3 separate regions of the Homo sapiens genome follow, and regions 1 and 3 are each linked to region 2. Evidence: promoter capture Hi-C in 16 types of primary human blood cells and fetal thymus (Javierre and others, 2016). All regions are on one chromosome and are shown on one strand. Each heading gives the region's core, a stretch centred on a gene start or on the middle of the fragment in contact. The rest is flanking DNA. Distances are from core to core; before and after follow the strand shown. Region 1 holds the start of H2BC12 (H2B clustered histone 12). Region 2 holds the start of H1-2 (H1.2 linker histone, cluster member). Region 3 has its middle 5.6 kb from the start of H2BC11.

Region 1 (3,448 bases), core at 582-3,081, 1.1 Mb after region 2:
TGACTTCAAGTGATCTGCCCTCCTATATAGGTATAGATATAGATCAGTGCCTCCTATATAGGTAAACAATAAATATAATTATTTGTTGATACATTTCTTAGAATATTAATGTAACCCCAAAATTACTGGTAGGATAAATAAGACTTGGATCAACAGTGAACATATGCTTTGCATGTATGAAGTTTTTCAATATGACCCTGCTAATCTCCAAATGCCTAAGGGCGGGCAATATCCCCAAAGACTAGAACAATGCGTGGCCAAATATGTTAAATACACACACACACACACACACACACACACACACACACACACACAAAATTCCCCTGTGAAACTGGCCTACATTTCTAAATCACAAATTTAGCCAGGTAACAACCTAGCTTAAAATTCGTGGACTCTTTCTTTCACTTGGTTCTTCCAAAAAAGTTTCACACTGCTCATCACCGGCATAGTCATTCTAGCCTCTAATCACACAATAAAACCCACCACCTAATTCTAACCCACCACCTAACACTTAGCTCAAACCCTGTGCTGCTGGGGAAGTTCCCTTCTCCTCTACTCCAACTTCTTGCTTCGGGGCGGACTGTCTCTAGTCTGTCTGTTGTCTCCCCTCTGAATCTACTTGCTTTTCATTTTCCTTTTCTATAAGCTTTCTTGTCAAAAGGAAAAATTACTGATTGGACCAATTGACGCTGAACATGCCTTAAAAACTAGTAAACTATTCCAAAAATCTCCGTGATGATTTCATGTTCCGTTTCTTCACTCCTGAGAAAAGCTGTGCTCCTCCCCTTACCCTTGCAGACTATCCTGCCTGGTGGTCTGGCATCTTCCCGATGTCCCGTGGGCTGCAGAGATGGAATCAGGGGGTGAGGGGGAAGCAAAGCAAGGCAGAGCTGGGTACAGCCTAGAAGAGGTTAAATAAGGTAACTGCTCGAGCGAAAGCCATACGTACTGGAACGCCATCGGGAACCAAATTTACTAATATATAAACTCACGTTAGAACGCCATTACATGGTGGAAAGTACACGTGACACAATAGGCTTTCAACAAGTTCTAACAGGAAGTCACAGCACTCGACACAACGGAAGTATCCATTTTCGCGCCAAGAGCCAGGAAGCACTTTCTGTTAACACAAGTTTCCTGCACATCCCTAATTTTTTAGGCGCCATATTCCTCACTCAGTACTAACAAAGTGTATGTGGCTTCTCCTTAGCCAGACTCGATTACAAGCACTGCATGCATTACTCAGTGTGATAAGATCATGATAATCCCTTTAAAAAGATCGCCCGAATTTAAGCCTGGATTAGGAACACGTGTTTACAGCTCTAATATCGATAATTTAAGTGGCTCTTAAAAGAGCCTTTGGGGTTGGGCTTTAAGACGCTTACTTGGCAAGTTTACTTAGCGCTGGTGTACTTGGTGACGGCCTTGGTGCCCTCGGACACGGCGTGCTTGGCCAACTCCCCGGGCAGCAGCAGGCGCACGGCCGTCTGGATCTCCCTGGAGGTGATGGTCGAGCGCTTGTTGTAATGCGCCAGGCGGGAAGCCTCACCCGCGATGCGTTCGAAGATGTCGTTGACGAAGGAGTTCATGATTCCCATGGCCTTAGAGGAGATGCCGGTGTCGGGGTGGACCTGCTTCAGCACCTTGTACACGTATACGGAGTAGCTCTCCTTGCGGCTGCGCTTGCGCTTCTTGCCGTCCTTCTTCTGCGCCTTAGTCACGGCTTTCTTCGAGCCCTTCTTGGGCGCGGGAGCGGACTTCGCTGGTTCCGGCATGTTGAAGGCGAACTACGAGCCTGAGACGAGCAGCAGATCGAGAAAACGGGAAGTAATGGGAGCAAGGTACCAGGAGTCGTTTTTATATAGGACCTCTCATGCAAATAAGGTGAAGAGTGAAAGTCCTGTATCTGATTGGTGGTTATTAGGGTGACGTCAGAGGTTAGTTATACCCAATCAACCCAATCTGCAAATCCAAAAGACGTACTTCCATTGGTTAAAACTAAGCTACAACCCTAACCAATGACATATCTTCTTTTTCGCGCCCAATAGTGTTTATAAAAGGCGCTGCCTTTCCTCGTTGGCTACTTTCAGTAAGTTGTGACCAGTATGTCTGGACGTGGCAAGCAAGGCGGTAAAGCTCGCGCCAAGGCCAAGACCCGCTCTTCTCGGGCTGGGCTTCAGTTCCCCGTGGGCCGAGTGCACCGCCTGCTCCGCAAGGGTAATTATGCCGAGCGGGTTGGAGCCGGCGCGCCAGTGTACCTGGCTGCGGTGCTGGAGTACCTGACCGCTGAGATCCTGGAGCTGGCTGGCAATGCGGCCCGCGACAACAAGAAGACCCGTATCATCCCGCGTCACCTCCAACTGGCCATCCGCAACGACGAGGAGCTCAACAAGCTGCTGGGCAAAGTCACCATCGCGCAGGGTGGTGTCTTGCCCAATATCCAGGCCGTGCTGCTGCCTAAGAAGACTGAGAGCCACCATAAGGCCAAATAAGGAGCGAGGTTGTGAAAACTGGAAAACAAAGGCTCTTTTCAGAGCCATTCTACACTGTCTTAGAGAAAGCTGGACACAGTCATGTTTGTTTCACTTCATGTTTGCTTCGCTAGATAACATTGTAAAGCGCTTCTTTCGCGGTTGGGCTGGAGCAACTCTTTACAATGTTTCTAAATTAACCCACTGGAAAGCAATGAAGACCCAAAAGTTGTTGTAGGATACTCCGGAGAAGCTTATTCAGCAGGGGTAATAAGTGAAATCAAACGTACAAATCCCTGAAATCTATTTACTAATTCCAGTGGTTTTTTTTTTTTTTTTTTTTTTTTTGAGATGGAGTCTCCAACAGGCTGGAGTGCAGTGGCGCGGCGCGATCTCGGCTCACTGCAACCTCCACCTCCCAGGTTCAAGCGATTCTCCTGTCTCGGCCTCCCGAATAGCTGGGATTACAGGCACACACCACCACGACCGGCTAGTTTTTTTGTATTTTTAGTGGAGACGGGGTTCCACCATGGTGGCCAGGCTGGTCTCGAACTCCTGACCTCAGGTGATCCGCCCGCCTCGGCCTCCCAAAGTGCTGGGATTACAGGCGTGAGCCACAGCGCCCGGCCTCCAGTGTAATAATTCTATTACATTAATAGTGTTGTCAAACAGCCATAAAAATGGGATATACTTGCCATTCTTTAAAGGCAAATTTTGCAATTCTAAGTATTCTTGAAAAGCAAGAAAGGGCAGCCTGATTCTTAAGTGGTCTAACTCTTAAGAGTAACTTTACCCAGGTGATGAAAGTCTAGTGACTCATTTGCATTAGAATTTGATTCCGATGGAAGGAGAATATGGGATGCAGAATTTCCTGAATCCCATATTTGTAAATCCTTAGTCCCATTTCTTTGGAGCAGGTGTATTAATGCACTCTTGTAGTAGCTTAGGATACAACATAGCTTTTTCTGTCTAGCTAA
Region 2 (3,501 bases), core at 718-3,217:
CTCTGTCTTCCTGTCTCTCTGCTTGCCTCCCTCCCCTTTCTCTTTCTTGGGATGAATCCGTGGTCACTATCACTAACAAATCAACTCACTATATTAATCATTGTGGAGATGGTAGAATAATTGAGCAGCTTATCTCCAGAAGCCCCAGTCCCCATAATTTAGGTCTCACCAAAATGTGCCCACCAGATTTTAAAAGAAGCGAATATAAGACGCTAGGCTTTCTGTATTCAGAAGCACCATGGATGTCAAACAGAGGGAACCATTAACGAAGGCCTTTATTAGAAATGTCTCCCATTTATCCATACACTCTTCATAGTTAATAGTACAAATACTGTTTTCTGCATAGAAACATTTGGACTGCCAAACAAAATACGTTTAAAGGAACTTCGATTTTTAAATGTTGCTGTCTGTCTAAACAGGATAAGCAACCGTAGTCATGCGAGGACAAAATGGCTGGCTAAAAGTTGTGCTTTCGATACGCTCAAAATCGATACGCTCAAACCTGTCAGTTTAGCGGAAGGCTACATGTTATGTGGCACAAAAAACTCCCTAGGTCCACGATTGCCTTGGGTGGAGGAAGGGCTATTGCCGCTGTTGTGGCTGTTTTTTAAATGCATTCCTTCGTTGCCACAGGAATGAGAAATTAACAGCAGAGGAATGTAGGACAAAGGTACCTGCACGCACTCTCCTCCCAGGGCTGGATGTTGCCACTACCTCCAGGAGACATCAACTTGACTACCAACAACATGGAAAGCGTCCGAAATCCCAGACATTAATATAAAGAGAAAAGAGGCAAAACTTTTAAGTCACAGTAAAGCAAAAAACACAGAATAAGCAACGTCTTCCACCATCCAATTAAATACAGAATGAAAGTCATGTACTAGAAGAACGGACCAACCCGGGAGCAGGGCGGGACTTTTGAAAATTTTTTAGTCCAATCCGGACATCCCTTTAGACTAAGAAACTGGCTCTTGTTTTGCGGTCTTTTCTGCCGTTCACAGGCCTGGGGCGGGACTGCCATCCCAAAACCATCCGCCAGCGAGAAAAGCCTCCGGTCAGGGACCTAGAAGCCGCAATAAAGGTTTAAATGCTGTAACCTCACCACGGCCACTCTCCAACCCCGTCACCCAATTCGTCTGATACCTCAGTAACTCCCATACGACTAACCTTAAGTAACAGGGCAGAACAAGAAAAGGCAGATAGTAAAGAAATTATCCAGCTCTTTTATTGAGATCAGTGGTGGCTCTGAAAAGAGCCTTTTGGGTTTTAGAAGTAGGCGTTCGCCTATTTCTTCTTGGGCGCCGCCTTCTTAGGCTTGACAACCTTGGGCTTAGCGGCCTTGGGCTTCACAGCCTTAGCAGCACTTTTGGCAGCTTTCTTGGGCTTCGCAACCTTGGCCTTCTTTGGGCTCTTAGCCACTTTCTTGGTTACAGTGGCCGCGGCCGGCTTCTTCGCTTTCTTCGGTGTTTTCTTAGCGCTCTTCTTCGGAGTTGCGCCGCCAGCCGCCTTCTTGGGCTTCTTGGCTGCCCCAACTGGCTTCTTAGGTTTGGTTCCGCCCGCCTTTTTAACCTTGGGCTTGGCTTCCCCGGAGGCTGCCTTCTTGTTGAGTTTAAAGGAGCCAGAAGCACCGGTGCCTTTCGTTTGCACCAGAGTGCCCTTGCTCACCAGGCTCTTGAGACCAAGTTTGATACGGCTGTTGTTTTTCTCCACATCATAGCCGGCGGCAGCCAACGCTTTTTTCAGAGCAGCCAGAGAAACTCCGCTACGCTCTTTAGAGGCGGCCACAGCCTTGGTGATGAGCTCTGACACCGGGGGACCAGACGCCTTACGAGGCGTACCCCCAGCCTTTTTGGCCGCCTTCTTCTTTACAGGGGCCTTCTCCGCAGGAGGCGCGGCAGCGGGAGCGGCAGGAGCAGTCTCGGACATGTTGAGAATCAAAAACTCGGGTACAAGTGGCAAAGCGCCGATGAAGCAGCGCCTGGGCAGGGCCGCTGTATATATAGAGCGCAGGCGCGCTCTGATTGGTGCTCTGGTCGCCCGCCTGGCTGGCAGGCTCTGAGCCGCTGCGCTGCTCCCAAGTTGTGTTTGTTCCACCTCACAAAAGGGGAAAAATATTAAAATTCCCCGCACCAAATCACTTGGGTTTGGTCAGGAAAGGATCTCAGAAGCCTCGGGCTTCATGCTCTTCATTTATTTTTTCCACAAACACAAAAACAACGCGTCCAGGCGTCCCCAATTCCCCCAACTCCGAAGGAAGTCTGGGGCAGTCAGAGACCACTTTCTGTTTTTCTTATAAATTACCTGTTCGCTCCTTTGCCCCTGAAGGTTCTTTTTCCCAGGGGTGGTTGGGCACATGCTTCCCTTATTTTTGAAGAAAAAAGCGAAATGGTTTCCACCTAAATTTTCATGATAATTCTGTTTCTTCACAAGGGAAGTAACACAGGTCCTCTGTGAATTCTTCGTGCAGTCGCACAGGAACTGTGGACTGGGACAAGGATTCCACGGCCAGTCCAAAGCAATTAGGGCGGGATGGGAGGGGGTTCATGAGCCTTGCTAGGGTCCGGGGTGGTGGGGGGCTACAGACTTAAATCTTTGATTTGAAGACATTGAAACTATCAAATCCCTCTTTTCATAGATGGGGGTGGGGCATCCTTTTCACTTCTCTACAGGCGAGAAATTGGGCTCTTTTTAAAGAGCTCTGAGGTCCCCCTCTGAGTTGTGTAAGGCAGGAGGTCTGGCCCTCAAGATAGAGATCATAAAGGAACAAGGGAGAGCCCTTAAGCCTGCAAAAAAGCCAATAGATTTGGCAGTTAGAGGCACTGAGATAATATGTTTTCAAAGAAAACAAGCATTTTTTATTTATTTATTTTTGTACGCTGCAATATAGAAATGAATTTCAGCCCATGAAAATTGTAGGTTACTTTCAGTAACCATACCTTACGCAAGTTACCATATAGGACAATCTCCAGTTGGGAACTCAAATATATCTTTTGAGTTGCAAATAAAGCAACTGACTTTAATAAAACACACTCTTGACTTTTAAGATGAACAATGTATTTGAAATTTATTTTTTTAAATAGCAAAATTTAACACAGAAAGACAAGAAAAGTACCAGAACATGTAATTTATTATAAGATCTGTTGTTGATGAGCTGAAAAATCACCTCTTCTCATCCCCTCTGAAACTATTCTGTTCTAAAGTTTGCTACTTTAAGGTTCACTACTTCTTATTTTACTCTCCGACCCCAAGTAATTGCTATTTTTTTCTTGAGATTAAAGGCAAAGTAAATTGTCTGCCCATATATTTGATATAATTATAGATTCATATTTAGGGACAAAGGTAATATTACAACTCCCCAACAATTTCTGCTCAAATATATGTTTTCATGAAAATATGTGTTAAAGAGAACAGCCTTAGATTGTGGGAAAGTCAAAAGGGAACCTACAAATAAGAGTTCAATGACAAATGAAAAGTGAAACATCTTTTAGACTAAGGGTGACC
Region 3 (3,313 bases), core at 120-2,619, 1.1 Mb after region 2:
CTAGGAGAAATGGAAACTCAGAAATCAGTGCTCTCAAAGAAGGGAAATTAGGTATGATTTCTTGGGAGCCACAACCCAACAAGGCTTTCCAAATAATACAGTCCTGAATTTGAGCCTCAGAGAAGGCAGGTATATTTTCAAGTCATGCACTGTATCAATTGCCTTTTTTTGGTACATAAAAGAAAATACTGTATATGCTAATAATCATTAACAAAAAAACATTCAGGTAAAAAGAAAAAATCTGAGTTTTAACAAAACTGAAAAACACTCAGAAGAGGACTATATGGAATGACAATTTGTTTTTCATCTTCTGGATCATCCCCTGAGGAAAGTAAAGAAATTTCCCTCAGGATATTCCAGTTGGCAACAGCAGAGCAGAGGAATATTACTTTATTCATTTATTCAGAGAAGTACTTTGCTGGGCACTGTTCTAGAAGCTGGGAAATACAAGTGATCAAAATATAACCTACCCCACAACTCCCAAATCCAGCTCGAAAAAACTTTTAGTGTGGAGGATGGGATAGTAAAGATAATAAGCCAATGAATAAGGAAAACATAGCATTTCAGATCTTTATATTATGATAAAAAAAAAAAAGTCCTAAATTGGAACAGGAAACACAGATGGGGTGGCTCAATTACAAGACAGCAGTTAAAGAAGGCCTCACTGACAAGATGAGTTCCCAGTGTCAGGACCCCAATATCCTTCCTTACAAAGAGTGGGGATCCCACCCTAGAAAAGGAATAGCAGTTCAGCCACCCCACAGCAGCTCTGGCATGGCTGTTTCTGGATACCTTCATGGAGAAATGCACACACTGCCCTTCATTTCAAAGATGAGCATCAGTCTCGTCTTCAGAGAAGATGCAGCCATTGTGGGGTTAGGGTTTCTCTCCTCAGGTCACTAGTGTAGATGCGCCTGCTGAGAAGTTTCAGCCACTCCACCTGCAATAAGAAAGACAGTTAATGAGAAAAGCAAGAGACAGAACCTGTGAAGAACATGTGACCATCAGTCATTTGAATGAAAGGGGGCAAATGTGAATGAAAGGGGACACATTTGTTTATTTGTGTTTGTATAAAGATATTCCAGACAGGTACACAGGAAACGAATAAAAGTGGTTAATTGTAGTATATCAAAGATAAAACACCAGGCCTTACTTTAAATGACGAAAACAGATTTTATTTAGTAACCACTGACAGTGGGGAACCATCTGGGTTTCATAACTGGCACATATCAAAATCAGGCTCCACTCCTACCAGAGCCTGGGAGACGAGGGCCCTATCTTCAGACGTTGACTGAAACAAACAGTAAATTCCTTTGGCGGCATCAATTGAGTTTTCTCAGGCAGGCACTTGAGAAGACCGGGGCTATTAGTAACTATGTTCGGGTTTGTTCAGGTCTTTATAGACCAAGGTGGCCACCTAGTCCAGAAGAGGGCTCAGAAGAAGCCGCCTAGAGTTTGGTCAAAAAGAGAATCTTTGCCAAGTAGATGGGGGAACTGGGCGGCTGGGGGCTGTTGGGGATGTGATGGTTTATAGTATTTCTTGTATATTCAATTATTAAACCGTAGCAATGAAATGCCTAATCGAAATCATAAAACGAAACAAAGTTTTGGCTACATTAGCCTATCCGTTATTGCCATAAGATGGCGACAGCCCTTCTCAACTCATAAAACTAAACAAAGTTTTAGCTACATTATCCCATCCATTATCGCCACAAGATGGCGATAGCGCTTCTCAACTCGCCTGCGGGACGGAGGCAGGGTGCGGCCCGGAGAACTCCTCCCTGTTCCAACAGCAGCTCTCCAGCCCGCAGCGCTTCCTGACGTTCCGTTAGTTCAGTCTCCTGAACTTCTCTGCATGTAGATTCCTCTCAGGGTAGCCCTTTGTTGACCAAAAACGAAATATGTTCACTGATTTGGCCAGCTTTTTTTTTTTTAACTTTTTTTTTGGAGGGGAAAGGGAGTGGTCATGGACATCCTGAAGCAGACACAAAAATATAGAGAATCCTGCACTTCCCAAGTCTCGTCGCACAGGCTTCAACAATTACCAACATCTTGCCCATTTTGTTTCATTATCCGCACCCACACTGACAGATGAGGGAGTCTAAAAAATATCTGAAACATGAAATCCCAAATATGTGATTTTAATCATGAATATTTTCACAAATATCCTAACAGATATGGATATAAAGAAAAAACGCTAAGATTTTACACCTAAGAAAATTTAAAAAATGATGTGTAACATTATCCAATACCTAGCCCTTAAAGAAAGAAAATCCTGAATTGTCTCAAATATTTTTATATTTTGTCTGAATGAGATCCCACCAGATCCAAATATGGCATTTGATTGCTGTTCCTCTTGAATGTATTAAAATCCATAGATTTACCCAAGTCTCCAAGTAGCCTGACTGCCCTTTGAAAAAGGAATTGAGACCATAATCTGGGTGGGAATTCTCACTGATCATGGATTGTCATTGCTTTTAAACCATTCTTTGAAAAGTGTTGGGGAAAAAATATTTTGTTTTCTTTCTTTTTTTTTTTTTTTTTTTTTTGAGACAGAGTCTCTCTCTGTTGCCCAGGCTGGAGTGCAGTAGCACGATTTCAGCTCATTGCAACCTCTGCCTTGCGAGTTCAAGTGATTTTCCTGCCTCAGGCTCCCAAGTAGCTGGGACTACAGGCACGCACCATCACGACTGGCTTATTTTTGTATTTTTAGTAAAGACCAGGTTTCACCATGTTGGCCAGGCTGATCTCTAACTCCTGACCTTACGTGATGTGCCTGCCTCAGCCTCCCAAAGTGCTGGGATTACATGCATGAGCCACTGCACCCAGTCAAAGGTATATTTTTTATGAGACTATTTTTAAAAACACTCAAATTGTCTGTCACAGCTCCTTGCCTATGCCCCTAAAAAGAGAGGGGAGGAGTGGGGGAAGGGGGGGAAACAGAAACAAAAAGAAAACTGACAAACAGAGGAGGAGTCCAAAAGCCCAACACCCATTAAGTCAAGACTTCCCACAGTTCTCTAAGCCAGCAAATGAATGTAATTTAAACTGCTTTAAACTTCATATAAAAATAAATCATTTTTGGTAAATCAATAAACAGAGGCATCTCCATGACTACTGGTGGGAGTATGTACTCCTCCTTTTCTAAAACAAAAAAAAACAGCAGGGAGCCCTGAGTTGGAAACATGAAAAGCATAACTTTTTTGAGTTGGCTATTATTAAGTGTAATATGAGAGGTACCACTCCATTCCTACCTCTCCTTTCTTTAACGAATGCATTTTGTCTACAGAAGAAATTATGCTTTTTCTTAGTC

What was found. The method cuts DNA at HindIII sites, captures the fragments that hold promoters and counts their contacts. A CHiCAGO score of 5 or more calls a contact.
Region 1: a contact is called between the fragment with the promoter of H2BC12 here and the fragment with the promoter of H1-2 in region 2, in 17 of 17 cell types (total CD8 T cells, naive B cells, naive CD4 T cells and 14 more). The highest score is 29.0, in total CD8 T cells.
Region 3: a fragment that was not itself captured here is called in contact with the fragment with the promoter of H1-2 in region 2 in 1 of 17 cell types (erythroblasts); the score reaches 5.1 in erythroblasts.

Annotation. Positions count from the first base shown.
Region 1 is chr6:27,145,024-27,148,471 of GRCh38, forward strand. H2BC12 (H2B clustered histone 12) reads right to left here and starts at 1,832. Exons shown (of 1, transcript NM_001312653.2): 1 at 1,338-1,832. The coding sequence starts at 1,775. The coding sequence ends at 1,395. H2AC12 (H2A clustered histone 12) reads left to right here and starts at 2,083. Exons shown (of 1, transcript NM_080596.3): 1 at 2,083-2,539. The coding sequence starts at 2,106. The coding sequence ends at 2,492. It overlaps MIR3143 (microRNA 3143), which reads left to right and starts at 2,603; the gene lies at 2,603-2,665. RefSeq lists enhancers at 730-839, 1,259-2,175, 1,430-1,889, 2,220-2,469. The HindIII fragment of the contact is 2,078 bases long and covers 645-2,722 here.
Region 2 is chr6:26,054,503-26,058,003 of GRCh38, forward strand. H1-2 (H1.2 linker histone, cluster member) reads right to left here and starts at 1,968. Exons shown (of 1, transcript NM_005319.4): 1 at 1,238-1,968. The coding sequence starts at 1,926. The coding sequence ends at 1,285. RefSeq lists enhancers at 449-1,070, 1,481-1,530, 1,621-2,020 and a silencer at 921-990. The HindIII fragment of the contact is 9,556 bases long and covers 1-3,501 here.
Region 3 is chr6:27,125,523-27,128,835 of GRCh38, forward strand. No RefSeq gene overlaps it. Among named protein-coding and RNA genes, the nearest start is that of H2BC11, 5.6 kb to the right of the region's middle. RefSeq lists enhancers at 1,525-1,574, 1,785-1,854, 2,877-3,036. The HindIII fragment of the contact is 5,241 bases long and covers 1-3,313 here.